Regions from separate parts of the Homo sapiens genome. Here all the other regions are linked to region 1. Evidence: promoter capture Hi-C in 16 types of primary human blood cells and fetal thymus (Javierre and others, 2016). All regions are on one chromosome and are shown on one strand. Each heading gives the region's core, a stretch centred on a gene start or on the middle of the fragment in contact. The rest is flanking DNA. Distances are from core to core; before and after follow the strand shown.

Region 1 (7,512 bases), core at 1,644-4,143:
CATTGTCCTTAGCAGTTCTTGGCTAGTATAGTGCTTGCATGTGGCAGATATTTAATCAAAGTTTGTTGAATTAAAAATTGACCTTTCTACTGATACTCAGAATTTAAAACCTACTCTAAATAAGGTTTTAATTGTATTTTTTCCCTGAAGTTTCAGCTTAAGCAGATTTGATATTCATTTTTTTGAGAGGACAAAAACCTGCCCTTATATGTAGAATTGTAACTGCACTAGCTATTATTTTGGTTCTTACAAAATAGTTTCTTCCTCAGATCTCAGACAATGACTAGGGATTTTATGGGAATAACAAGGCTCCTAAAAGTTCAATCTGCTTAAACTGACTACAAACATTACTTTTCCATATAAGTGGGAGGGAATTCATTAACACTCAGTTAATATGGTCTTGGAAGAAAGAATGAGGCAAAAGCACGTTTACAAATATTTCCAAATCATTGTTACACAGAGCTAAAGGCAACCCATCTTTACTGGATGTGTGCCTTTGGAGAGATTAACCATGGTGAAGGACACCCAGCATGTGCGGAAGGAATTCACTCCTCCAAAGAACTAAGCAAGTAGGCAGTGCTGAATTAGAAGGCAGGGGTGAGGGACAAAGGGAGAAGAGAATATTAACAAATTCAAGACTTTCAGACCCCCCTCCTGCTTTAAGCAGAACAGGTGCCACCAAGCTATAGGAAGCTCTTCTCTTCCTGCTACTTTGGAAAAATGATAGGAATAACCAGAGTTAAATAGAAAATCATTTAATCCAACTGGACCATTGAGAACTGAATTCACGTTTTACCCGATCTATAAAAATAATCTTGTTTGAAAGGAAGGGGTCCAGATGATTACAAATGAAATGAGTTTGCTTTCTTAATTTGTTTCCAACATTTTAAGAAATGCTAAGTGTAATGTTGATGGAATGAACTTCCATTCACCCATCCACTTTAAACACACACAGACACACAAACAAAAAACAAAACCTTATACCTTAACTTAGAAGAGGAACACGTTATCTTCTCTGAGACTGTGGCAGGCTTTAGGAACATGTAGAAAGCAATAGATTTTGACACCGTTGATATTCTCATCAGGAAGCCAGCAAAATACATTCGAGAACACATTGTTTCAAAGTAAGGGAACTTCCATGGAAGCCAAGTTAAGTAGCCAGCTGAGTTCTTGGGTGACGGCTAACAAGGCTTGTCTTTGCATCAGATATCATTACCATCACTCATTTATTCATTCTTATTTTTCAAGTATTTATTGAAGTTTTCTATGTATTGTGTCTCAGGCTAAATACTTGGGAAAACTTGATGTGTAGGATTTTATAGGCACTTGGATGAGATGAATGCATTTTAACTTTTCTGAACAATGAATTGAGTAATTGAGAGTTTCACAAAAATCCAAAGTGATAGGTAGACAATATCTTGGATGATAAAGTAATATGAATTAATTCCAACAAATTAGAAAAATCTTTCTTTACCAATAAAGTTAATTAGGTAATCCCTAGAGCGTACACTTTGAGGGTAGAAAAATATTGTTTCCAGAAAACAAACATGGAAGAGTGAGCACCACTGAGAAGCTTTGGTGGAGAGGAAAGTTCTGTTGGTGGGAATAGGCCACAAAGTAAAACCAACATTTAGGTTGCTCTCCAACAAGAAAAAACACCATCAACCAAGACAAATGTATATGAAATTAGTATGAGCCAGTCATATTCTCTTTTTCACTCCCATTAAATCATACATTTACTGTATTAGTTACTAGGGCTGCAAGTAAATGGTTGAAATTACATTGGGATTGTGAACTGAATCCACAGTTTAAGGTACCTGATCAGAGTAAAGTATAGAAAATACATGAACCAGCCTACGTATTTAGAATTAAAAATTAGGTTTATCAAAAGACAAGTTATTCTTTGAATTTGTTGTGAGATTCCACATTTGTGTGTTTGAGAAAGGAAACAGGAAAATTATTTCAGAAAAAAATGATAAAATATTATAAAATCTGTTAATCCTTAATAAATTAAAAATAGTGCCTGTGATCAGAGGAAGATGAAATTTAAATGGTTCTGTAGGAAAACCACAGAGGAATAAAAGATTTGATCTGTAGGTCATCTGAAGGATAATCTTTTTTTAAAGAAAAAGATGCATTATTTTTTCATTGGCAGCAAAAACAATTTAGATATTTGGAGGCAGAGAGATGTCTGGAGAAATATATATTGCCTCTGACCTGCCTCTTGTTCAAATACCTTGCTCTGAAATACTGAGAAAGAACCTACTTTTTGAAATTACCTGTAAGCGACAGGATTATGCCAGATAATATCTAAGATCTCTTCCAGTTTATAATTTCCATTATTTAATGACACTTTTTTGTATAATATTCATGCATCCATTTTTATTGGCTTGTTCATAAATGTTAACTATGCTTTGTTCTTTAGCGCTGAAAGTAAGCACTAATGCTACCCAACAGGAGTGAAATTTTTAGAAGGTGCTCTTATCAAGAATAGTTGGTTAAGAAAAGAAAATCTGGGTTCCCAGACCTGGGCTCAGATCCAACTCTGCAACTTAGTAGAAAGTTTCTTAAGCTTTCTAAACCTCAGCTGTTTCATTTCTAAAAGGGGATTGTTCTAAGAATTAAATATAAACTTCTTACCTCATTTCTTGGTACTCATTTTTTTCTGGTGATCATAGTTTTGGAGTTTCTTATGTCCTTATCACTATTTTTTCTTGATTGCATAGGCCTCACATAATTAAAGCATCCCCATAAAACCCCTCCCAGTGTTGAGAATGTTTTCATGATGTGGCAGTTATCTTGGATATTTTGTTCAGGCATAATTGGAATCCGTTTTCAACACAGCTATACTCTATATGATGAATGCTTCCACATCAATGGTTCTGTGAGGAGAGGCCATCTGTGAACACAGAGTGCAGGTCATTGTTTCTAGAAGGCACTCCTTGCACAGACAGCAGGATTTGACCTTTTATAAGCTTGGATGGGCAGTAGAGACTTTGAAAAAGAGATGTGGGTATTCATAGGTGATTCAGAATTCTATGTGTACACAAGATTCCATGCAGTATTTTATAATCTACTAATGTGACTCAGCTTTGGGTAAGATTGTAGTTCTGGTGGTGATTCACAGAGGTCTCCTAGATTTGTCTAGTAATACTGTAGAGAGTTTAGTCTTAGCATCCTTCCAGGAGCAATTTGGGACTGTTATCTAAGAACTAAGAATGATTTCAAATAAAATTACAGTAAACTTGTGACTTGTTCACTTTGCAGATAAAACCAATGGTTATATCCAGCAGAAGGCCATTTGTATAATAAAAGATTTGCCCAAAGGATCTAGCAAGAGAAGAGAGCTCTAAAATCAATTTTTCTAAAAATCACTGAAAACATTACCTCATTGTTTTGATCTAGCTGTGAAAATAGACTGTTTTTTATGTTTTAAGAAAGGATGAGGAGATATCACTTGTTTCATCATTTATTGATTGGATCCTTAGGCTTAAGCAGGGATCAAACAGTTTGCACTGTTAGCCAAGGCATTTACAGCATTGAGACAGAAGCAGACCTACAAACTTGAATGGGCTTATATATTTTACTGGGTAAATTTACCTAATATATTGAATTGACAGCTAAAATGTAGGTATTCCTGATGAGGTACATCGATAAATGGTAAAGAAGATCTACATGAAAGGAGTGTGATGTTTTTCTGAACTTGTTAGGGAAGCTACCATGTGGCCATTTGTGGAGGAAATCTGTACTTATTTCTGTATTGATTAGGTCATTTGTGCCATTTGTTCTGCTCTGCGGGAATTACTTCACTTGGCTTGCTCTTTCTGCACTCTGAATTACCTTGTTTCTCCAGGCAAAAATTCTTATCTGTATAGAAATCCAAGATTTCTGTAGCCTTGTGAGTATTATTTGCTGAAGGCGCAGGGACAGTGATAAGTGAAAAGTCAGTATTCTTCTACTGATTTTGAGTTTACCTTTGGATTATGTTTGATCAAAAGCTACATGTGGCATTGTGATTTCAAATAAATAATTTGTTTTATTGTCTTGTACTGTAAATGTTACCTGATATTTATAAACTCCCTCCTGTGTGAAAGGGACTTTGTGTGCCTATGTAATGTCCATACCTATCTACTTTTTGGCTGTAGTCATAGCAGTGACATTATCTCTGTTATGATATATTTAGGGATTCTTGTTGAAGGAAGAATGAAAGAAGTTATTTCATCCTTAATTTTTTTCTTTGTAATATGAATTACCCTGTAATATGTAACGGCCACACAAAACAGAGAATTCAATTATCTCATCTGGGTATCATCTAACTAAGAATCAGGAGCTAAGGGAAGTAGGTATAGTGAAGCCATGACAAAGAAGGCCATGGAAATTAATTTTTGAAACTGCCGCAAAGTACACGGAAATTTGTCTGCATGCTTCACAGATCTATACTTGTGGTTGCCGTTTATGGCACGAATGATGCCACGGACTATCAGCTCCTGATTTTACATATCTTTGGGACACACTCTCCCCCGGTGTCATAGGAAGGGGGTAGGTTTGACATCATGGTGATCTAAATTTGAATTCCATCTCTGCCTCTTACTCACCTAGCAAAGTTAATTAACCATTGTGAGTTTAATATTTTCTTCATGAGTTACGTATAAAATACTTGCCACATAATAGAAATGATAGCTTGTTCCTGCTTTCTCTACATGTACTGACTATCCATTAAAACATTGAAACTTCTAAGAATATGTACACTGAAATTGTATGTATATCAATATTTGTTTTGAAAATACTGTAAAGTTGTGGTTTGAGTCACAAATATTGTATCAGTCCATGAATAACTGGAAAAGAAAAGTAAAATAAATTTGGAGGGTTGTCACATTCTATAGCATTGGCTTTTATAAAGTGTCAACAAGATATATAATTAAGTAAAAAAATAAGGAAAAAATACTACGGCATATCTAAATCCATATTTGCACTCACCACCCATCTTAATTTGAAGCAGTGAGGTTTCTTTAGGGGACCCAGTGATTCACACTTAAGAACAAACAGATGCCTAGGAATAAGTGATTAAGAGAAAATATTATTTTTTCAGAAAATAAATGGTGATAAAATAGATGAAAAATGGTTTTAAAGATGCATATTAAGTGATGAGTGAAGTTTAAAGGAAAATTGCATTTTCATTTTTTTTCCTAATGGATTCACATGGTTTGAGCTTTTAAGTGCATGTTTTAAGTTACTCTTTTGTGATTGTTTACAGTTAAGGCATATTACCTTGCTCTTCAAATACGTGCTCTAAGATATTCCTCTGTAAACTCAGGGAAAGGCACTACATTATTTATTTACAACCTGTCTTCTGCCCCATGGGGGAGAAGTAACACCAGATAGACAAAGGTATGGAATTTACCGATATTGAGCATGAAATTATCCTTTCTAACTAATACGTTTCTCCTGCAATTATCTTCTGAAAAACTTATATAAGAATTAGCCCATGTGAGCTTTCTTCGCAGATTGTTTGTCCTCAATTTGTTTTCTGCCAAGCAAACCAAACACCTGGAATGCACACGCTCATTCCTTGACTGTGCTTTCAGTGTTTGTTGGCAGAGGGTGACGGTTGCTTTTAGCAGATGTGCAGGATCAGGGTGGCCTTTTTATCTTTCTACCCTCAAGGAGTCAGTTTCTCAGATAAAGGAAGTGGTGAGGATAACGGATGTTTCAGCCTTACCATTAAATAAAAGTTAAGCATAGTAGGTATAATAAACATGTTTATTAATTATTTGTCAAAGGTAGTGACTTTGTTAAAACATTTGGAAAGAGAAATTTAAAGACAATGCTTAATTTTTATTAAATATTAAATCTTATTTTATGACCTGAAGTAAACTAACAACCAAAATAATTTTCTTTGTTTTCCCATTTACCTAACTTGATGAAATGGAAAATCTTAGAAATAATATTTATAGGTAAATATAAGGATTTATTTTATATCAATATATTTTACATTATGTACATAAAACATATTGCTACAAACTTCTTAACCTAATTCATCATATGCATTAGCTAGGTTTACTCCGGTAAGTTTTAACCCATGACAAGGAAATAAACTTTATTTTACTTTTGAGAAATATTTCTGCAGAGATAACAGAAAATAAATGTGCATACTCTTTGATAAATATATATGTGTGTATATTGATATCTACATTTATATATGTATATATTTGAGATTTCTTATTATAAAAAGAATAATCTTTATTATTATGACTGATGGGGTGCTCCAGGCTAGCTTATTTTCTACTTTTTTTCTTTCTGAATTCACTTTTTTCATTGCTAATAAACAATATCCCATTAAGGCTAGGATAATAGAAGAGAATCAATGAAGAGTGGAAACTTGCCTGTACCCCTCTTCTCTGCACGTCACAGCTGATGAAATGGCAAGATAGTAATAGAGAGTAAGATGATGAATTTATTGTTTCAAATGAGGACTCAGGGGTTTCTGTACACTTTAGATTTTGATTTCATAGCTCTGCCCCAGTGACTAAAATGAGCTGTACTGTATGTCTTTTAAATGCCAATTGGTGATTCAGGGCCCATATTTTAACACAAATGAGCCATCCTATTCCTTAAGTGAATACCATTACAGAAGGAAGTAAATGTGAGTTTTCTTATGTCACCTCAAGGGGAAATCTCAGATGGTGGCCCTCCTTCTTTATCACATAGGAGAGTTATTTCTGAAGCAGTAGTTCTCAAAACATCATATACATGAGAATCACCTGAAGGTTTATTGAAATACAGAATTTTTGGATTCAGCAGGTCTGTGATGGGGCCCAAGTATATGCATTTCTAACAAGTTCTTAGTGATGTTGATGTTGCCAGTACATGAACCAGAATTTGACAACTACTGATCTAAAACATAAAACTTTTTGCCAGAATGTAGAATTTGCATGATTGAGATTTTATAATCTAAAAACAAAGGAATATTATAAAATTTCAAAACAAACTAATCTTAGAATAACTTTGAATTTACTTTCATTTAAAAATTATTTTTAAAACATATTTTTAAAGGAGTAGATGAGGATAGTAGATTCCACTAGACAGAGTTACGCAGTCTCTGTTTTGAATGACTATTGAATACAAATTTCTCTCTAAGATTGTGTGTACTAAGAGTTTCCAGTGTAGGATTACAAAATCCACTGAGATATAATAATAATCCCCTAATCCACAAGACTGGATATTCTAAAAATCAAGGAAAATTTTAAAATAAAAATTGGTGAGCATTAGAGGTTAAAACTGTCAACACAAAAATGTGAAGACAAAGATTTATAACAGCTTTATTTTAATTGCCCCAAATTAGGAACAGCTCAAATGTCCTTTAGAAGGTGGATAAACTGCAGTACATCCATAGAGTGGAATATTGCTCAGCAGTAAAAAGGAGTGAATTACTAATCGACACAATAGTTTGGATGGGTCTCAAGGGAATTATTCTGAGTGAAAGAAGCCAATCTCAAGTCATTGCAGACTGTA
Region 2 (7,512 bases), core at 242-2,741, 1.9 Mb before region 1:
CTGGGAGCAGCAGTCTGCCCTGTACTGATCTCTTTTGCCACATTTACTTAGAACTAGTCTTCACTTTTTTGGGTCTCTAACTGAAGCTTCCCCTTTCGCCCCATTTTTCCATCACTGTCTTTCTTGGGCCACATTTTGATTTCATAATAGTAGTTGCTTGAAGGCAGTGGGGGAAGTGGGGGAATTGGGACACTGGACCAAATGTCTGATCAGCTCATCACATTGTCCACATGAAATGGACCGTCTTCCTCAGTTCAAAATAATCAAATGATAGATGGAGAATTCTGAAAGTTAGGAGCTACAACTATTTGAAATAAAACTCTAGTTACATAGTTGAACCGTTCAAGGTAGGTTGTTTAAAAGCAGTTTGTTCACAAACAGATATATACACAGTAGAGTAAATTTGTTATTTTAGCAAACGCTTATTTAGCTCATGCTGATTTAATGAGGGTTCCTTTCATGATACTTAATAGTTATAAGAACATTTTTTACGATTTTATAGTTAAACATTTCTTTTGCATACCTTGTTAATCTCGTTTTCTCCGTATAGTATATTCTACTTGTTTCACAGGAGAATCACAATTGTATTCCAATCCAAGTAGCAGAAACCCAGGCTAAACTAGCTTGAGCTAAGAAAAGACTTATTCTGCCGGGCGCGGTGGCTCACGCCTGTAATCCCAGCACTTTGGGAGGCCGAGGCGGGCGGATCACGAGGTCAGGAGATCGACACCATCCTGGCTAGCACGGTGAAACCCCATCTCTACTAAAAATACAACAAATTAGCCGGGCGTGGTGGCGGGTGCCTGTAGTCCCAGCTACTCGGGAGGCTGAGGCAGGAGAATGGTGTGAACCTGGGAGACGGAGCTTGCAGTGAGCCGAGATCGCGCCACTGCACTCCAGCCTGGGCGACAGAGTGAGACTCCATCTCAAAAAAAAAAAAAAAAAAAAAAAAAAGTAAGACTTATTCTGCTAACTGAAAAGTCTAGGGATATTCCTTCCTTAGCTTTAGGTATCACTGGAGATCGTCTTGCCTCCGTGATGCTTCCCTCGAAAGCTTTGTTCATGTATTGAGAGGGATGGCTGTAGTGTAATAACAATCGTCCGCAACACTCAGTATCTTACAGAAGGGAGTGCTTTTCTCCTTAGCTCTGGTGGAAGTCCATGGGAGGCTCCTGGGTTTGTTTGCACCCATTTATGATGGTGGGAAATGGGCTAAGTTAATTGCCCTTATCTGAGTCATCCAGCCGGTTTAATTTCTCCTTACCCCATGGATCAAAGCAAGATGAGTCCGGACTGGGGAAGGGTTGGTTCTCCGAAGGAAGGGGTACTGAATAGATTGCTCAGAGGAATTAAGACCCCTTGGTGTCAAATTTTAGAGCTACAACTGTTGGGCTGCAAGGATCATTAGTCTAATAGCATAAGCATTTTTTTTAAAGTTAACCTAGAAATACTTAGCCATTCTTTAGAATTAACATAATTAAACAATTTCAAGGTAATTTTTATGTAGGCATGAATAGCATTCAGTGAGGATTTTCCATTAGTAATATTAAGAAAACATAGTTGTGGTATAATGAGCCCTGTGATAAAAATCTTGTTGAATATATCAAATTTGGTTCCAGCCCTCAGATTTGGGGTCTTCAGAAGCACTTGGTGCATGGGTTTTAAGCTAACAGACATGGGAGGTTGGTGGATAATGGTTTGGATACGGTTCTCCTGTCAACTTTAAAACTTAATTCATTTGTTCCTTCCTTTATTCTTTTTACCAGACTTAAATGTGTGAACTGTTCCTAGGTAGTGGACCTGTTGTAGATATAGTCTCTTTGAAACTAACCATGTTTCTTTAGTCACCTCTGTATAATCCCCTCCTGCCACATTAATTCAACAAATATTAAGTATTTTCACTTTTTGGGCTTCTAGAGGGGTTAGGGTAAGCTTGGAGATATTACTAAAGTTTATAATGGAGGTAGGTACAAAAGTTTTGTAGGTATATACGCTGTAAAATTAGATGTGAATCAGTTGTGTGATGTTCATTCAAATCCGGCAGAATATCTTATTTTTAATAATTATGTTTGGATAATTGTGTAAACTTAACATTAATTTTTTAACTTAATGAACTTTTTAAACTAATGAACTTTGAAAAACAGAGTTTAAACTAATTCCTAAATAATTGAAGCCAGCTTGATAAGTCCTGATATGCAGCTCCATATATTGCTCCAGTGATAGACTTGTTTTCTTATTACTAACTTGTAGGTGTTCTATTAAAATTTCCTAAAATATACATTTATGCATATTATAATAATGAGAATGAGTACTTAAAAACTCATTTGTTCTGGGTGTGGTAGCATGCACTCATAATTCCAGCTGAGGCAGAAGGATCACTAGAGCCCACGAGTTGGAGACCAGCCTGAACTACATACTGAGACGCTGTCTCAAAACAAAACAAAACAACAACAACAAAAAACCCTTTTATATGATACTTCTTCCTTTATAAAGTGGCTTTTACTAAAAATTGATTAGACCTTGGTAAATGGTGACCTAGGGTGATCAAATGGGAACCCTGCTGGTTTTTTATTTTTATTTTGTATTTTATTTGAAGCTCCAGATATACCATTTACCAGCATTGTGTAATTTCTTTTGTGGTGATCAGTTTCTTTAGAGAGAAAGCTTCTAGTCTTCCATGAAAAAGTCTGCTTATCAGCTTTCTAAATTTTATCCTGGGGAATGGAGGTTGGGGATCTTAACAATCATGTATGCAGTCTATCAGGTACATCTATTTTTAGTATGACACCTGCATTAGGGTTAGGTTCATTTCTGTGTGGTAGATCCCAAATTATCTGAGTTAAGATTTTATTTTGTAAAAAGTTGGCAGGTAGGTAGTTCTGGTAGCCCAGGGCTGGTGTAGTGTTTCTGTGGAGTTAATTGGGGCTCAGATTCCTTTCAGCTTTCTGCTGTTTGAAACCTAGAATATTGTTCTCAGGTCCAGGTTGCAATCATATCCAAGTTCCAGGTAGTAGGATGGAGAAAGGCACGGGGCTCGCCCTTTAGGGTGTTTCCTGGCAACTGTTCCACAACACCCTGCCTATATGTTACCGGCCATTTTGTGTGTCCTTCTGATAGGATGCTAGGAAAAGGAATTTTCATTATGAGCAGCTGTATACTCAGCTAAAGGGACACAGTTTTGTTAATAAGGAATAGGATAGACTGATAATGATGTAGTCAATTAGCACTCCCTACCCCACTTAGCAGTGCTTGATCTCCACCTTAGTTATATTTGATATCTCTGACATTTTTTTCTTTTTTCTTTTTTTTTTTTTTGAGGTGGAGTTTTGCTCTTGTTACCCAGGCTGGAGTGCAGTGGCATGATCTCGGCTCACCACAACCTCCGCCTCTCGGGTTCAAACGATTCTCCTGCCTCAGCCTCCTGAGTAGCTGGGATTTACAGGCATGAACCACTCTGCCTGGCTAATTTTGTATTTTTGGTAGAGACGGGCTTTCTCCATGTTGGTCAGGCTGGTCTGGAACTCCTGACCTCGGGTGATCCACCCGCCTCGGCCTCCCAAAGTGCTGGGATTACAGGCGTGAGCCACTGTGCCCGGCCAATCTCTGACGTTTTTTTGAGAGTGAACCTACCTTCAGAGTAGAGGATCTGGGAGCCTGAAGTTTTCTTTGAAGGATTTTCAACCATACCTTCTCGTTCCAGCCTCACATTGAACTACCTTCAGAGGTACCTCATGTTTCTTAATTCAGATCCTTTTCTGGCTTCTCTGGCATGATTTGGCTTCTGCTTTGGCTCCCTTCCCTCTTAGCCAGTTAGATTTTGGCTTTCTCTTTTTCATTCACTTTTCACCTTTTAGTAAATTTTGTTGAAACCTCTTATATCCTGTGTGTCATTTCCCGTTCTTTTTGTCCATGTTCATGTACATCTTTTACATTTTTAAATTCTTGTTTTAGTGGGTTTTGGCGGGGAGCAAAGAAGGATGTTTATTCAGATTTATTTGTTTAACTGTAAGAGGAACTTGTTTGCATTTTCAGCTCTCCACAGTGCTTGTAACAATTTACATTCTCATCAGCAGGTATATGGGAGTACTTTATTCTTCCATATCCTTGCTAATACGTACTGATTAATAATTTAATTTATTGCTTTTTGCTAAACTGATGGGTGAGAGATAGTACCTTTAGTTTGCATTCCTCTTATTTTACTGAGGTTGAACAGTTTTTGTTTACTGGCCACTTTGTTTCTTTTTCTGTGATTGCTTGTTCTTTTCTTTTGCCCATTTTCTATTGAGTTGTTTTTTCCTTACTAATTTGTAGGAGTTGTAGCATTTTCTGGATATTTATACTTTTTTCATTAGGTATGTTGCAAAAATCTTCCAATCTGTTTCTTGTCTCTCAACTGTGTTTATTCTATCTTTTGTCACATGGAAGTTCTCCCAAAAGTGTTGTCATCTCATAATCTGTAGTTAACATTTTTTTTCTTATTCCTAATGTTGTGCATGTGTTATGTGTGATTTTCCTCCCTCAGATTTGCCAAAGGTTTGGAGCCACCTTTTCTTTGTTTAAAACCAAGGCTTTTTGGTTGGTTTTCTGCCCTTGTCATTCATTTTTTTAAAAAATGTTCTTTGTTCCTTTTTTCTATCTTTTTGTATTGATTGGTTAGTTTTCCATCTTTTTGGTTTTTCTAATATATTTTAGGACTGTGTATTTTTTTCTCAGTCTGTATTGGTTGCATCCTACTGACTTTTTCATTTGTAAAATGAAGTTGATGGAATACTCTTTTAATTTCTGAAATATTTTCTACATGGTAGTGTTTTATAGATCAGTAAAGAAAATGTTCTGTTTTACTTCATAACTGTTGTTTGGATTCTCGTTGTTGGTTTGGTGGTGAACATACTCTTTGCAGAACTTTTCCTTGTCCCACGGCCATGAAAATTTAGGCTTGCAAACGGTTTGAAGGGTGAGTAAAGCAGGGTTTTATTGGGTGAAAAGGAAGAAAAGGGGGAAACAGGAACTCTCACAAAGCTAGAGTCCCAGTTAGAGCACATCCCGCCTGCAGCTTGAATCTCAGGTTCCGCACAGGAAGAGGAGGGGCCAGTCTCCTCCCTATGGAATTTCCCAAGGCTCCACCTTAGTGAACAGGCTGGTTGGAATTTCTCCAGGGACCCCCTCCCACCTGGCTGTCTCAATATTGAGATAATATTAGCACAATGACGTTGCTACAATTTGTTAACCAAATACTAATGGAGAGTCTGTGTGAACCATACTGTAGGAGACAATGTGGAGGATATAAAGATATACTTGGTCCCTGGTCTCAAGGAATATCTGTAATTGGCAGACCTTTTTGGCTCCGTAATTTTATTCCACATAGGTGAATAAACATATGGGAAGATTTAAAATCTGATTTGTTTTTCTGTGTTTTGACTTTTCTGGTGTTTAGTAAATCTTATCAGGACTATCATCATTCTGTGTATCTGTAAGAAGAATCTTCTGAGGTGCTTTACACAGGAGATTTAAGCCCACAAAGCTATCTTTATGGCAGAACTGGACTAAGATCCTGACCTCTTGATTCCCCAGCTAGTTACTTTTTGCCATACTCTCTGCTGCAGTAGTGCTTGATTAATGATTTTTCATGTGTTAAATTGGGTGAAGAAAGAAGTGTGAAAATAAAGTTCACAAAGAATCTATGAACTCCAGCCAATATCTCTGGCCCAGCTTTTCTGATTCTCTTGTTTCATCCTCTAGTTGGTGGTCTGGAGTTGCACATCCCTAAATACAGATTGCAGCTGAATAGGGTTGTGTGAATTAGCATTGCAGTATTATTTTGGCCATGTGGATTGGTTGTTCTTGATCCCCACACCTTCCCCTTAAATTAAAAAATTCTTTTCCGGCCGGGTGTGGTGGCTCATGCCTGTAATCCCAGCACTTTGGGAGGCTGAGGCGGGTGGATCACGAGGTCAGGAGTTCGAGATTAGCCTGGCCAAAATGGTGAAACACTGTCTCTACTAAAAATACAAAAAGTTAGCCGGTCATGGTGGCGGGTGCCTGTAATCGCAGCTGCTCGGGAGGCTGAGGCAGAGAATTGCTTGAACCCGGAAGGTGGAGGTTGCAGTGAGCCGAGATCACACCACTGCACTGTAGCCTGGGCGACAGAGTGAGATTCTGTCTCAAAAAAAAAAAAAAAATTTTTTTTTCCTTTTTAAAAATTAAATATAGAATTTAATCTTTATTTAAAAATTTTAACATTTTTGTTTTTTTAAGACAGGGCCTTGGCTCAGTTGCTCAGCTGCCCAGGCTGGAGTACAGTGGCGCCACAATAGCCTACTGCAGCCTCGATCTCCTGGGCTCAAGCAATCCTACTTCAACCTCCCAAGTGGGTGCATACTACCATACCTGGCTAATTATTAAATTTTTAGTAGAGAGGAGGTCTTGCTGTGTTGTCCAGGCTGGTCTTGAACTCCTGAACTCAAGCAGTCCTCCTGTCTTGGCCTCCCAAGTGCTGGGATTACAGGTGTGAGCCACCATACCTGGCCAATTTTTTTTTTTTTTTAAACTAGAATTTCTTTTTTTGTTTTTTGAGATGGAGTCTCACTCGGTCGCCCAGGCTAGAGTGCAGTGGCGCGATCTTGGCTCACTGCAAGCTCCACCTCCCAGGTTCACGCCATTCTCCTGCCTCAGCCTACCATGTAGCTGGGACTACAGGCGCCCACCACTACGCCCGGCTAATTTTTTTGTGTTTTTAGTAGAGACGGGGTTTCACCGTGTTAGCCAGGATGGTGTCGATCTCCTGACCTTGTGATCCGCCTGTCTCGACCTCCCAAAGTGCTGGGATTACAGGCGTGTGCCACCGTGCCCAGCCTAAACTAGAATTTCTAATGGGAATTTGTCCTGTACCTATTTGTGGTATTTCAAAGAAATGTATTTATTTCCTAGTTTCTTTTTCCCCATGAGATTTTTAAGTTGAGTTATTATATATTTGTGCCAAAGTGGTTGAGTTTTATAAAATACTGGAGAACATATATAAGTACTTCTCCATTGTTGCAAAACAGTAATCTGTAACTACCATTTGTCATACATGTACTCCTGTGTGTCCAGGAACTATTTTAAGCACTTCATATACAGTACCATTTATTCCTCACGCTTAAAGGAGGTATTATTACTCTTTAGGAAAGGTTCAGAGAAATTGAATAATTTTTTCATGATCACATAGCTAAGAGTTGGGATTCAAACTCAGGGCTATCTGACTTGAAAGACTGTGACATTATACCTTTTAAATATATTTGGGATTTTATAGTTTTGGTTAAAAAAATTCGCTTATTTCTAAAATAGAATCTATGAAGACACCAATTTTTTTGCACCATTATTTTCCACAATGTGCTAGTTTTTGCCAACTCCTGGCTTAGCATACTGGCTTTCCCTGTGCCTACTTATACAAAACTTGCAGCCTAGGTCTACTTTGTTAGAGATACATCCTAGGCTAGAGTCTGCTGCTATAGTAAAGTGTACTTAAATGTTAAA
Region 3 (7,512 bases), core at 1,775-4,274, 1.8 Mb before region 1:
GGGGTGATGGTGGAGGTAGTTGATCAGTGGCAGTGGGACTGTGGTGGTACCACGGTGGTGGAGTGATGGTTGGGTGAAGGTCGGGTGGTGTGATGATGCCTGGGTGGTTGTAGTGAGGTAGTTGTTGGTGCTGTGGTTGTTTCTGGGGTAATGGTGGTGTTGGTGGAATGATGTGTACTGGTGGTCGTGGGTAGTCATCATTGGTGGGGTGACGTGAGGTGGTGGAGTGGGTGATGGAGTGATGGTCAGGTGGTGTTGGTGGAATGATGTGGACTGGGGGTGGTGCATAGTTGGTACGGTGGGGTGGTTGGTGTTGGTGGAGTGGTAGGTCGGTTGGGGTGGCTGTTTGTGATGGTGGTGGAGTGATGGACAGGTAGTGTTGGTGTTGTTGATGGAATGATAATGAAGGGTTGGTGGAGTGATGAGGAGGTAGCTGTTGGTAGTGTAGGTTGGAAAATGATGATGGAATAGTTGGTTGGTGGTGGTGATGGAGCCGTAGGGGCAGCAGTTGGTGGTGGCAGGCTCTGGCAGTGGTGACAAGATAGGAGGAGCAGCGCTTCTCTCTGACTCCTTGGAGGCCATCCTTGCTGTGACCACCATGGTAGTGCCAACTTCAAGAACTAGGTTTGTGCCTGATTCTAGCTCTGCAGGACTCCTGGCTATTCTCCCAGAGGGCCCTGGTGCTTCCTCCGCCTGGGTCAGTCCTGGGTGTGCTGGAATTCTAAGCTGCAAGATCAATTTCTGCTTGTGGTCTCAGAACTTGTTTCATTTATTTATGGACATGCCCACACTTGATTTTATAGTCTTGCCTCATACTCCATTTTTTTTCTTTGAGAAACCACAGGCACTTTAAAGATATTGTACAAATATTTCTTATAACAACTTTTTGATGCTGGGGTCAGGTAACAGAACCTTGCTTTATAGGTGACAAAATTGAGGTGATTCTCCAGGTTACATGTTTCTTAAACCATTGAGAAGTGACATCTCGTTTACAACCCTTCCTGTGGCTGGTAGAATTAATTTTTGTTGGAAAAAAAGGTCATTTTGTTATATTTAAACCTCCCCTCAACTATGAAAAAAGAGAGCTGTTTCTTTTCTTTTTTCAGAGAGCCCACTGGGCGCCTTGTTCCTGTGTATTTGTCCATGACCCTAATTCTTTACTGACGTGAGCGAGGTACCAGGAGTGGGGGCTGCAGAGTGAGGACACGGGAGTGGACGTAAAGTTTTCATTTGAAGCTTCAGTGAATGGGGTCTGTACAACCCTTGTCATCCAAGGGAGCCATTTTGGAGAGAAAAAACAAAACAAAACAAAAAAACTTCTGTTATTTTTGACCACTTAAAAAATATTTGCTTCACATTTGGTAAAACTGAGAAAAATCACATTTTCCTTAGTGAAAGCAGCTGCAGTTTCTTCCATAGCACCTTTGAAGATGGGATGGGAGGGGAGCCAGGGATGGTGCACTGTTGGTGCATGGGCCAGGGCAAGTGCAGGTTGCCTTTAAGCAGATGTGTTTTAACTGAAAAAGGAATAAAAGGGTACACTTCAGGACATACTTATCCCCAAAAGGCTGCTTCCTAAAAATGCTAATTGTGCATGTTAAACAGAAACCATAGGCTCCTGACAGCCTCACAGAGTCCTGTTTGTGGATGTTTTATGGAGGTGATTTAAACCCTAGGACTCTTCCTTTCTTCCCTCTCGTGAAGGATCTTGGTGTTACCAACTCATTAGCTCGTGTTCCTGTTATTTGCCTGCAGTTGCAGTCCTCTGCTTTCAATAAACGGGCCTAGCACTGTCAGGGGATGTTGAAGTCACGGAGGTGGCCACACTGGATAATCAACAGTGATGACAACTTTGCAAATTTAAGAACAGCACACGAGGCAGAAATGAGAAGCCGCATGAAGTGCTGATGAAGAGCAACTTTCTAATATCCTCCTCCTGTGGTTCCACATGAGATGTGAGCTGTGAAGGAAAGAGAGTTATGAACCAATTGGTGCTTTGAATTGAGATTCTCAGAGTCCACCCATGCTGCTTTGTGTGGAGTCTTGGGGCATTTATTCAACAAAGACATCCTGGGGACCTACTCTGTGCCGGACCCTGGGCTAGGTGCTGGAAGGAAGTGATAAGGAAGACAGGGACCCTGTCATTGGTGAATAAACAGTCACAGGGGAGAGATGTAGACAGACATGGATACCAGGAAATGCAATATGGAGTGAGAAGTGTTGTAACAGAGTGTTGTTCCAAAAAGGATTCAAGGAAGCTGGAAGTGTGCACAGGTAACACAGGAATACATGAGAGAGAAGTTTTGCTCTGCTGGATTGAAGATCAGAGTGGAAAAGATTGTCAATGGCCACCTGCCAAAGGCCACCAGGGAAACACCTGCAGTCATAATTTGCTACACCAAAAGAGAGTGAATGCCACAGAGAACCGTGGATGTGTGGATAAGAGGGAGTTAGTGGGGCTTACTGGAGGATTTGGTCATGTGTTTGGTGATTTGGGGAAGAGTACAATGAAGCTGGGCTCTGTTCTGGATTGGTGCTGTCAGAAAGTGGGGCAATTTGGTGAGTGAGCATCTTACACTAGTACTAGTGTACTAATACTGGGGTTAGAGGTATCACTGGAAAAGAAGCAGCAGCATCTCATGTTAGCCTAGGGAGAGGGAGGTTTGGTCACTCTTGTGATTGCACAGGGTCTTTGTTTTTACCTCTGTTCAGGTCTGATCATGGAGCAGCCATCTGCTCCTGAAGTTCTTTCTGAAGTCTTTCTGAAGTTCTCAACTGCTACTGATATTCTCTGAAAGATTTTGTGTTCATCAGGGGACAACACAGTCTAGCAGGTAGAGATGAGGCCAGCTACCAGCTGAAAACTCTCAAGGCTGCTTCCCCATCACCCCTCCACCTCTGGGCACTGAAGGATGAGTAGGAGTTTCCCAGATCGGAAGGTCAAAAAGGGATGGGCATATGAGGCAAGAAGGCATATCTGGAGTAGGCCTGGGGAGGTACCGAGTATCCCAGTAGGCTGAGGGACACCAGAAGTAAGGACGTGGGTGAGAACCAGGGGGTGTAAGCCCAAGGAGTCAGACAGGGCCCTATGGTGGGGGCCTCTGGGGCTTGCTAAGGAGCTTAGATGGAATCCTCTGGCCATATTAATCTGAGTGCTCAACTCAGAGCGGGTGATCAGCAGATGTTTATTGAATTGGAATATCGGTTAATGAATTGGACCTCTTTTTCCTTGCAAACCCCACCCTCATGCACCCAATATAGTGCCATCAAAGACAAGAAGAAAAGCTACATGAGGAAGGGATATCCTTCTAGGAGTCCAGATGTCCTGCCCTTACAGTAGCTTTTGGAATACTATAGTCACAGAGCTGACAGGGTTCTTAGGGTACATTTGGTCTGCCTCTCTGCTTTTACAAAAGGGCACCTGAAGCAAGATGCGACAAAGTGCTTGCTTAATGCTTCACAGCAGATTGTGAAAGAATGAGGACTTGAACTCACATCCCTTGCTTCCTTGTTTCTGCCCTTTTCACTACAGCAACACTTGTCCTTGTCATCTATAACTTTCCCAGATTAGTTCTTCTATAACCCTAGTGAACCCTGGGCCTCCACATGGCTCAGTCTCTGCAGAGTTCTCCATATACAAAAACAAAACAAAATTCAGCAGCCAGAAGTACTTGAGAAGGAATTCCATTTGCTGCATGACTCTGTTGAACTTCGAGGGGATAAGAGTCACCAGCCACAGTTCCACTTTTCAAGGACCCTTGCCTCTACTCCTCAGCTCCTCCGGATGGTCTCTTGTGCCAGCACCCAAGCTGCTCCTGTAACCACAATCCAGAGCTGATTTTTCTCTTGCTTCTTCCTTCCTCATCTAGTTCTTTATTAAAGAGATTGACCTGGCCTCTCTGCGCATATCCTCCCTACCTTCTTCCTGTCTCTCAGGACTCATCTCCCCTCTTTTATCTGCCAGTGTTGTGTCTGGCAGTATGTTACAGAAACCTCATTACAGTGGCTAAAATAAGTAAGAGATTTATAATCTCTCCCCAGACAAGAAGTCCATAGGCAGATGCTCCACAGCTGTGCCAGAAGCTCTTCCTGGTTTTCTGCTCTGCCAGTTAGGGTGGATGGTTTGCTTCATCTCACAGATGGCTGCTGCACCTTTGGGCGTCATGCTTACATTCCAGGTTAGAAGAGGGGGAATGGCCAAAAGCAAAAGATATGTGCCTGCTGAATGGTCTCTTTACATCAGAAAAACAATTGATTTTCTGGAAGCCCCAGCCGGTAGAATTCTCCCTACACTCATTGGCCAGAGACGGTCACATGGCCATTGCTAGCTACAAGGGAGCCTTGGAAATAAGGCCCTGAATAGATAAGGGAAGAATGGATATTGTGTAAGAAGCTAGCAATGTCTGCCATACTCATCTTATAACTTTTGCATCACAAAAATCTGGGAGCTGACTTGGCAAAAACAGGGTTTCTTTCCATGTTGGGTTGGGGAATAGGAGTTTATTAAGCAAAGTTATTTACAGATGAATAAATATTAGCCTAAATGAGTATGATTGATTCTAGAGCACATTGATTTTGTTTTCATGTTGCAAATTTTTAGCCTTTAAAAATAGAAATTTAAATGGGCATTTAGGACATATTGCCTATAGGAAGCTAAACACTTTTTCTTAATGCATTATATTCAAGATTAGGGCTTTGCTCTGAGATTCCCAATTCCAGGAAGAAAAGTTTCTAAATACATTCTACTTGGAAAAATTATAGTTGTTTTCTCTTGTGCACTAAAATAAAATCAGTACAGAGAAAAAAACCCCACCAAGCTTTTGGTACTACAATTTCAATTCTCATCTTTGTCAATGTGCACATAGGCATTTAGTGTTATTATAATGAATGCATATCAGTTGATTGTAATCTGTTCTTTTCCATTTAATATTATTTTATAGCATGATTTTATAAACATACAGTTCATATAGTTATTTTTAGTAACTATATATTTTGAGATATCATAATTGGCTTAGTCATGCTCCTTTGACCAGTGGTAATTTCAAAAATATTTAACAACTGATATTCATATTGATCAATCAGAACACTCTAGGCTATAGAAACAGAGTATGTCCTGGAGGTCTCTGTAGGACCTGACATTAATTCATTTGTTGCTGGATTGTAGGGTAGATTGTTGGTGGTTGGGAGGTTGGGTAGGGAATATTTACTAACTGATATGGAAGAAATGTAACTATTTTCTTAATTAAAATTCTTTTTTTGTAGAGGTGGGAGTCTTGCTAGGTTGCTCAAGCTGGTCTCAAACTCCTGCCTCAAGCGATCTTCCTGCCACAATTCATTTTCATCTATTTATCTATTTTATAGAGACAGGGTCTCACCATGTTGTCCAGGCTGGTCTCAAACTCCTGGGCTCAAGCCATCCTCCCGCCTTGACCTCCCAAAGTGCTGGAACAGGTTCGAGCCCCTGTGCCTGGCCCCTGCAACAATTTAATAACCGGTTTTATAAGTTAGTTTTGGCTGTGTAACAAACCATTCTAAAACAGAGTGACTTAAAAGAAACAATCCATTTAGCCCATAATTCTGTGGGTTTGTAATTTTTAAAAATTAATATAGTTTTTAAAATTTCAATAGCTTTTGGGGTGTAAGTGGTTTTTTGTTACACAGATGAATTACATAGCGGTGAAGTCTGAGATTTTAGTGCACCCTTCGCCTGAGTAGTGAACATTGTACCCAATGTGTAGTTTATTTATCCCTCACTGTGCCCCACCCTCTCTCTTCTGAGTCTCCAAAGTCCATTATCTCACTCTGTATGTCTTCACATACTCATAGCTTAGTTCCCACTTATAAGTGAGAGCGTATGGTATTTGGTTTTCCATTCTTGAGTTACTTCACTGAAAATAATGGCCTCCTCTCCTTTGTAGCCAGTGGGCCAGGAAAGAAGAAAAAATAATGGTCCCCAGCTCTATCCAAGTTGCTGCAAAAGACATTATTTTGTGCTTTTTTATAGCTGAGTAGTTTTCCATGGTGTGTATGTATATCACATTTTCTTTATCATTGTTCGATGGTCACTTACACTGATTGATTTCTTTGCGACTGTGAGTTGGCTGCAATAAACATACACATGCAAGTGTCTTTTTGACATAATGACTTCTTTTCCTTTGCATAGATACCCAGTAGTGGGATTGCTAGATTGAATGGTAGTTCTACTTTTAGTTATTTAAGGAATCTTCATACTGTTTTGCATACAGGTTTTACTAATTTACATTCTCACCAGCAGTATGTGAGTGTTCCCTTTTTACCACACCCATACCAACGTCTATTGTTTTTTTTTTTCATTTTAGTAATGGCCATTCTTGCAGGAGTAAGGTGGTATCTCTCTGTGGTTTTAATTTGCATTTCCCTGATCTTCCTTTGAGAAACGCCTATTCATGTCATTTGCCCACTTTTCGATGGGATTATTCATTTTTTTCTTGCTGATTTGTTTGAGTTCCTAGTAGATTCTTGGTATTAGTCCTTTGTCGAGTGCATAGTTTGCAAATATTTTCTCCCATTCTGTGGGTTGTCTGTTTACTCTGATTATTCCTTTTGCTGTACAGAGGCTTTTTAGTTTAATTAGGTGCCATTTATTTAGTTTTGTTTTAGTTGCATTTGCTTTTAGGGTCCTAGTCATTAATTTTTTGCCTAGGCCAATGCCCAGAAGAGTTTTTCCTAGGTTATCTTCTGGAATTTTTGTGGTTTCAGGTCTTTGATTTAAATAGTTCTTTGCTCCATCTTGAGTTGATTTTTGGGTAAGGTGAGAGATAGGCATCCAGTTTCATCTTCTACATGTGGCTGGCCCGTTTTCCCAGCACCATTTATTAATTTATTTAATTTACCATTTTATTATAAAAGATATTGCAAAGGATACAGATGAAGAGAAGCATAGGATGAAGTATAGGGGAAGGGATTTGGAGCTTCCATGCTCTCCTTGGGTGGGCCCTGCTCCAGGAACTTCCTTATGTTCGCTCTCCAGAAGCTCACTGAACCCTCTTGAGTCCTCTTGAGTTTTTATGGAAGCTTCATTACATCAGTATTCCTTTGCCCCAGGGGATAGTGTGCGACCCTCTCATGGGAGAGTCTAAACATCCACAATCAGAAAGGTGGAGAACATTAGAGTCCTACCTTGGGGCAGGTGAAAGGAGGGCGGGAGAAGGTCAGAGGCCTAACACACCCAGCATTATAACAAAAGACTGCAACAAGGGTTATGGGAGTTATGAGCCAGAACTGTGGATGAAAATCAATATATATCATAACACCACAGGCCACTCCTGATTTTTAACCACGGATCCTTTACATCTATCTATCTATCTATTATCTATCTATCTATCTATCTATCTATCTATCTATCTCTGTATACACAATCATTAATAACTAGTTCAGTCTATCATATTGTATGAATGTCTCCCAGGATGAGGCCACTCACATTTGTAGGTTTCCTCACAATCTTTTCAGGTTCCAAAAGCAGGAGTGGCCTTG
Region 4 (7,512 bases), core at 3,281-5,780, 1.6 Mb before region 1:
GTTTATGTGTTCATTCATTCATTCATCAACAAATGGATTTTAATAGCACATATCTGCCCATTCTGAGGGGCATTCAAATATGTAAACATTTGGTCTCTTAGAGTGATTTCAGGAGAGCAGCAGCACATCCCTGTCACTGGCTGACTTTCCTCACTGAATTAGTCTGCCTTCAATCACTGTATTCAGTGACTTCAATACTGGGGAAATTTAATATAAAGAATTATTAAGCTATGATAAGATAGTGTATCCAAAGATGGAAAAAGAACACCAAAACATACCCAGGGAAAGACAAGTGTGAAGGTTAGTATTCAGATCTCATAGAAGAAGATCTTCAATTGCAGGGTCCTGGATAATGACGTTTGCTTGGTTGCAGTGGCCAGAGCTAGTCTACATAACTGGGCAAACAGCAACAACCTTAGGCGGCACAGGTAAGCTGAGGTTGGGAGGTGTGCAGCAGGGCTTCGTGGGGATGCCACTACAGGAACAAGGCCCAGACTATGCAGTGACTGACTGGAGGGCTGCAGCAAAGTGGTTACTGAGCCTGGGCCAAGGCTGCAAGATTTCTGGAGAAGCCTGCTTTGGGTGCGCAGCTGGGGCAGAGCACCCCCGGACAATGTCCCCATCCACATGTTCTGCTGACAGAACATGCAGCTGAAGCTAGAAAAAGCAAAACAGCAAGCGGAATCAAAAAGAGAAGCCCCTTCCTTCTGCAATGTCCTGCCATCGCCCTCTACTGACAAACCTTGACATTGTGCTTACCATAAAGGAGAAATGCTGCGAGTCCAGTTCATTATGGCAGAGCAGGCATTGAAGGGTGAGTTTGGAGCTTCAAAGCAATACATCAATAAGTGGCCAACTGTCTTGGTTGTGGTTTATCTTGTGAAATTATTGTAACATATTTGAATTCCATTCCCGTCCCCAAAGAGGCTTCATTGACTGGGAAGCTAGGAGGTGGTTCAAGGGGGTTCTAAGAGCAAACTCTTTAGACAGGATGACACCCTGTGGCTCTGCCCAGGAGGAAGGCCTGGAATGCAAGCCTAGGTTGGTAGCAGTCATTTGAACTCAGTGTTTTCCTGCTGAAAGGTAGTTTATATTCATTTGGTTTACAGACTTGGAATCCCAAGGACATGGGTTTGAGTCTCAGCTTGTCCACTCACCAGCTGTGAGTTCAGATACCAGTGTGTGCCTAAGGGTACTCCAGGATCCAGCTCCAAAGTTACAGACTTCCTGGTCATATCATAGCTTTAGCCAGCCATTCCCTAAATCAGGAGTCAACACATTTTTCCTGGAAAGGGCCAGATAGTAAATATTTTAGGCTTTGCAGTCCATATGGTCTCTGTCGTGACTACCCAACCCCCCTCTTTGTAGCACAAAGGCATCCATCGACAATGAGCAAACGAATGAGTTTGGCTCTGTGTGGGGAGGTCCAGTATTGGACCTAACGGCTGGGACCAGTGTGTACCTAGGGACACCCTGGCTCTTGAGCTAGACTGGCTTCTCCCTTTTCAGAGGAAATTTTGTCTCAGGTTTCATTGACCTGCCCTGTTGTGGGCCTTGGTTGGAGTCCCTGAAGACATCCTAATAAACTGCCTTATCTTTAAATCTGGAGGAGCCAGGGTTGGGGATCTTGGCTGCTTCCTCCCTAGAATGTTCCAGGCTTCTTATTAGGTTGGTGCAACAGTTATTGCGGTTTTGCCATTGAAAGCAATGGCAAACACCGCAATTATTTGTGCATTAATCTAATATTTAAACTTGGTCTTTAGGGTACAGCTCTACAAACCCAGTAAAGTGGTAGCTTTTGCTAAGTTGCTAAAAAGCAAGGTGTTATTAGCCCCCGCAAAGGGGGCTGTGGGACAAAGAAGATCCACTTCCCTGTTTAAGCAGTAGCATGACCATACAGCCTCAACCATACCTGGCCTTATGGCTGCCATAGCTACCAAAGGTAAAAAGTTGTCACTGTAGGCAAAGGATCATCTGTTGTTGTCATCTGTGCATTTTCTTGGCCCAGAGAGGACGCCATACGTACTCCAGGAAATAAAAGGAAATTTACATTTTAAGGTATTTCACATTTTAAGGAAAGACAGGAGCCAATAAAATGAAACATTAAACGAATCACCTAGTGGGCAGAGAGGGGGTGAAGCTTCCCAGGCAGACATGTGCCAGCATGCCTCAGTTCTGGGCTGGTTTGTGAGCTTGGTAGCTGGTCACTCACCTCACCAGCTCATATGACAAGGTAGCCAAAGCATCCTTGCCTTTTCCTGTGCCTTTTTTTTTTGGTTCTATTTAAATTCTGGGGCAGAAGGGTTGATGCCAAGATATTTATGCCCTTTTGATAACTGCTGCTTAAGCTGCTTCTTGACAGACAAATTCTAATTAAACACGTATAATAAGTTGCAGAAACACAACAGCTCTCAGCGCTTTTCCTGTGGCATGTCACATCTGAAAAAGCCACATCCTGTGACTTGCAGATACATTTTTAGGAACTGCCTCTGTAAAGTTGCTTTGGCTGTTTCTCCAGAGATGTTGGTTAGGTTAACACCTCCTCCTTTTTTTTTTTTTTTTTTTTTTTTTGGGAAAAGCTATTTTTAGGCAGCAAATTAATTGTAGGGCAGTTCAGGTCAAAGAGATTTGTATTTTTATACGGTAAATTTTGTCCTTGTCTTAGGAATGTTACAACAGCCAATTAAGTGGCTGAGTTGGGATTTGAACCCTGGTCTTTCTGGCACCATACACTACAGGAAATAAAGGAAAATGGAAAGCAACAAAAACAACAACGTAATCTGGTGCTTCGTTTTGGATATAAGATGTAACTTGGATTTGAGGAATGGAGGGTAATTACAGTGGTCATATCCAGTAAACTATCAGAAATGTGGGCCTGGAACTTGGGTGGCAAGTGTAGAGCAGAGATTTCATTGTGAAAGTCTTCAGTTTTGGGCTTCATTCATTCATCCAATACCCTTTGTTTAACCTAATTAAATGACATTTTTACAGGTTGTAGTGGAAGAAGCATTAAAGTGGAATCCCTCACTCCCTCCTTCCCCTTCCTCCCTTCCTCTCTTCCTCCCTTCCTCCTTTCCTCCCTTCCCTTCCCTTCCCTTCCTTTCCCTTCCCTTCCCTTCCCTTCCCTTCCCTTCCCTTCCCTTCCCTTCCCTTCCCTTCCCTTCCCTTCCCTTCCCTTCCTTCCTTTCCTTCCTTCCATTTTCTTACCCAGGCTGGAGTGCAGTGGCATGAATGATCACAGCTGATTTCATCCTTGAACTCCTGGGCTCAAGCAATCCTCCTGCCTTAGACTCCCAAGTAGCTGGGACTACAGGTACACACCACCATGCCTGGCTAAGCTAAGCTTTCTATACTGAGTTTTGCCTTTACACTTGCTGTGTGCCTTTGGGCAAGTCATTTAACGTGTCTGACTCTGGAAAGACTGTGAATTTGGAGGGAGTGGTAGGCATTTAGGCTAACCTGTGCTTGTTCACATGGTGGGCATGGGTTTCCAAGAGAGCATGTGGAAGCAGCTCAGATCTCTTGAGGCTCAGTCTCAATGCCTCTTCTGTCATATTCCATTGATCAAAGCAAGTCACAAGGACAACCGAATGGGAGGAGCTGCAAAATAACATTGTGAAGGAAGGAGAGAGGAGAATTACTGCAAGCCATCTACACTGAGCTAATTTTCATCCTGGGATCCTCAAGGAAAACAAGTGGTTAATATAATGTGGTGTTTTGGGCATGTGATGTTCTGTGTGTGACATTAGCTAGGAGGATGGGCAGGCCAAGAAAGTAGAGAAAACCGTGGACAAGGAATCAAAACTTACCAGTTGCTTGGCCTTAGACAAAACACTTGGACTGTTAGAAGCTCAATTTTTTTGTCCTAAGGTTCCAAAAACCTTTATTAACCCTGTTCTATTCTAGGCACTAGAGCCATAGATAGAAAAAAATGAATGATTCTTGTGAGTTTTTCTGTGTGTCTATCAGTGATTTTGGGAGTGACAGTTGTTAATTCCAGCCAGTTTTGGCAATAAAGGGTTATCTTGTTTAAAAGACACTGGTACCTTGCTTGCTGTTCAGGTCAGCTTTGAGCCTGGCTTACTGGACCACTGTTTTGTTGAGGGAGCTCTGAGTAATGGCAGACCAACATTTCTGTCTTACACTCTGAGGCAGGCATTTCCCCATGGGAAATCTTCTCTTGTTACCTTAACTTTTGAATTGCTCGACCCCTTTGGGGGTTGGTAAAGTCTTCAAGTGCATCTATATTCTGCTCACTTGTCCTGGTTGATTTTCAACTTTGTTTTCCAGCTGTGAAAAACATATGTACGTATGGCAGTAATTGGGAATTTAATAATTTTTGATGTTTCTTGTGGTGTTTGGGAAATCCACTGAGAAGGATATATATTTTTTCAGTGTTTCCCCTTTCTGTGCTAAAACTCTGCTAAAACTATTCATGAATTTTATTTTCTCCCTCTCCCCTCCCCTCCTCTCCCCTCCCCTCCTTTTCTTTCCTTTCCTTTCCTTCCTAGCACAAGGCAGGCTAACTTTGAAGTTAGGTTTCCTTTTTGGAGGGTACGTGTATTGGTTCCTTATTTTCTCCTTTTGTTTTCATTTTTATAGTGTTCTTTATTAGTTTTTCCAAGTCATTTTAGAAATAAAAAAAGAAACGTAGAACCACCACCGTAACAACAAAACACCACAGTCAGAGATTCAAACGATCTGAGAATTTTCCTCTTCTCTTTTCTCTTCTCCCTTGGGAACCTATGCACCTCCACAGATTCATGTACTATTCATGAACAGGTGATTCACACATCAGCATATCCACATATCCAACACTAACATGGACTCCAGTCCCAGAGTTTCCCTCTTGTCTTTATGCATCAATATGATCCAAACCAAGGCTGTCATCTTTGTTCTGAAATCACCTTCTCCTCCTGGAAGTCATTGTTTCTGTTATTTCTTCCTCAAGTGGTCATTTTCAATGTTTCTTCCCTCAGTTCACCTCAGTAGCATTTCCACCATTCTTTTCCCACTGTCTAAACCCTCATCCATGGCTGTTTATTTCAGCATTTTAACTTTTCTCCACTCTTTCACCAGCACCACACACTCACATTGTTGAAGATAGTCATTGGTGAACCTGACTTTATCATTTTGTATTTTTTATGGTGACTAGCACAGTGCCCATATTAAATGGACCTTCAATACACATATATTGAGTTAAAATGAATTAATCTTTTAATTACATGCAAAATCAAATAATATTGTCACAAATTTGGAAAATAGAAGAAAGAAACAGAAAACACTCATAAATCTATCATCCCAGCACACTGTTCCAATGACTGATATATTCTTTCAGTTTCCTCCACCCCCATCTTTATATGTGGTTTTCAAAGTTGTCATTGTTACTCCAGTGGTCCACATACAGCACACAGAGAGTTTCTCAGCCCTGATACTAAAGTCTACACAATAGCAATTAATGTGGCTCATCAAATATTTCCAGCTGTCTGCCTTCTTGGCACATGGCAGGATTGTACTTCCATCCTTGTGGTTAAGCAAGGTTATGTGATCAGTTTTGGCCAATAAATTAATTGCTGGTATGAGATTGCTCCATCACCCCCTACCCAGGAACATTCTTTCAGATAGTGGCTATTCCATCAATGGTGGTCCTAGAGTGAGATAATGATCTGGAGGAACCCCCAGGAGACCCATGATGGACATGAAGTGGGAGTGAGAAATAAAGCTTTGTTATTTTAAGTCACTAAACTTTTGAGCTTATCTGTTATTGCAGCAACACCTTATCTCAATCTGACATATAGTTCACACCATCTGGGAGCTAGAGAAAACCTGAGAGATTTTCTGGTTTAATGCCATCATTTTATAGATAGAGAAATTGAGGCTCAGAGAAGCAAAATGATCTGTTACACAGAAAGTCAATGTTGGCACTGGTTGGAGCCCAGATCTGCTGTCTGCCTGAATATTTTTCCTGTTCAGCAGGATTCTGGGCCCTGCATGAGGCCAGCCTCAAGTGATGCTGCCCTGATTTTCCTCCGCTTTGTGGTAGCAGTTCTACTGCAAACTATGTAGGGATCAGCTGTCCCTGGGGTCTGGGTCACTGGCCTGCTCTAATTTTATACCTTGACAGATCATTTGCAAGTGCCCCGGGGTCCACTTTTGGAACCCTCCACAAAATGCCATGACGCAGGTGCCCATGTCAGCACTACAGCAGTTAGAAAAATGCTTCCTTTTGCAGATGGTAGCTTTGAATTGTATGCAATGGCATCTCTGTACAAGTGAAAGTTCAACAATTCAACTTCGGAATTATCTGATGGTGATGAAATTCTCAAATTCAAAGGTATGAAGATAATTAGGACTCTTGTTAATCATTCTGCATCTCTTTTCCCACCCCCACCCCGCAGCAATGAGATTCACACAGATTAATTACTGCCTGCTATAAATAAACGCAGAGAAAAGCAATCTGCATAGGAGAGGCAGAGAGTAACTGTCATTTAATATATCACAGCTTTCCGCACACCTGTTTCCCCCTTGCTGTTGCCACGGAAACCACACTTTATAGGAGAAGCTATGCATAATTAGCATGGATGGAGGTCTATATCAATCAGAATAATTTGGAAGAATACTAAAAGCCCAAAGGAGCAGGCAAAACTACTTGTCTCAGTAGGAAGGAATCAGACCTCCACTGTGTAGTAAATGAGGAGGCAGTTACAGTAGAAAATCAGCAAAATTAGCACTTCTGGGTCAGCTGAAAAACAGGCAGACAGCCTTACTCCACTAGAGAGAAAGAAAACTTTGTCATCGAGTTAGGTTCTATTTCTTTTAAGTGCTATTTAGAGTCACACAAAGGAAATACAAAGCCAAACAAACACATAAGTATATTTTGAGGTGATGCGACTCCGATGACAGGACCTGTACTTCTGAAGGGCAGGCTCTGCACATCTGGGGAGCCCCTGCTGCAATATTAGGCAGTGAGGCTGGGGCTCCAAGACTCCAGCTACGGGAGGGGCTGCTGAGTGTGGGCTTCCTTTAGGGAACAGTGAGTGGCTTTCAATCAAGGTATGGGATTTTATGAGTCGCTGGAATCATTAGGTTTTTGTTGGTGGTGGTGTTTGTTTTTTTTAAGTGACGGAAGGGAATTTGGAAACAATCTAGTTCAAATACCCTAGTTCTAAGAGGAGAAATGGGAATCACAGGAGATGCAACTTGCCCAAGGTTTCAAGGCCAAATGGTGGCCTATCTTGAACCAGGACTCAGCTCTCTGGTTTTCATTTAGTACCATTTGCCGAGGCCACGGATCTGACCACCACTGAGTTGGTCATCCTGGCCAGAAATTCTTAGATTTTTTATTACAGAGGGAAGGAAACTGAGTACCTGGCATAATAAGTCATTCAGATGTTAGCTTTTCTAGTCTCAGACAATTTCCCCTTTTGTGTAGACATGCAAATTCATTTCTTTATTGAATCATTCATGCAGCAAACATTCATTAAGTAAAATGAAATATTATATTCTTTGAGG

The links. Contacts are between HindIII fragments. The CHiCAGO score rates a contact against its expected background, and 5 or more counts as called.
Region 2: a contact is called between a fragment that was not itself captured here and the fragment with the promoter of ARPP21-AS1 in region 1, in 1 of 17 cell types (erythroblasts). The highest score is 6.0, in erythroblasts.
Region 3: a contact is called between a fragment that was not itself captured here and the fragment with the promoter of ARPP21-AS1 in region 1, in 1 of 17 cell types (naive B cells). The highest score is 7.7, in naive B cells.
Region 4: a fragment that was not itself captured here is called in contact with the fragment with the promoter of ARPP21-AS1 in region 1 in 1 of 17 cell types (fetal thymus); the score reaches 6.8 in fetal thymus.

Annotation. Positions count from the first base shown.
Region 1 is chr3:35,649,068-35,656,579 of GRCh38, forward strand. It overlaps ARPP21-AS1 (ARPP21 antisense RNA 1), which reads right to left and starts at 2,894. Exons shown (of 2, transcript NR_046679.1): 1 at 2,641-2,894; 2 at 1,130-1,417. The region is part of intron 1 of ARPP21 (cAMP regulated phosphoprotein 21); the gene reads left to right. The HindIII fragment of the contact is 403 bases long and covers 2,571-2,973 here.
Region 2 is chr3:33,799,192-33,806,703 of GRCh38, forward strand. All of the region lies in intron 1 of PDCD6IP (programmed cell death 6 interacting protein), which reads left to right. Among named protein-coding and RNA genes, the nearest start is that of PDCD6IP, 4.3 kb to the left of the region's middle. RefSeq lists an enhancer at 1-135. The HindIII fragment of the contact is 878 bases long and covers 1,053-1,930 here.
Region 3 is chr3:33,885,472-33,892,983 of GRCh38, forward strand. No RefSeq gene overlaps it. Among named protein-coding and RNA genes, the nearest start is that of PDCD6IP, 91 kb to the left of the region's middle. The HindIII fragment of the contact is 3,581 bases long and covers 1,235-4,815 here.
Region 4 is chr3:34,014,941-34,022,452 of GRCh38, forward strand. No RefSeq gene overlaps it. Among named protein-coding and RNA genes, the nearest start is that of LINC01811, 140 kb to the right of the region's middle. The HindIII fragment of the contact is 2,379 bases long and covers 3,342-5,720 here.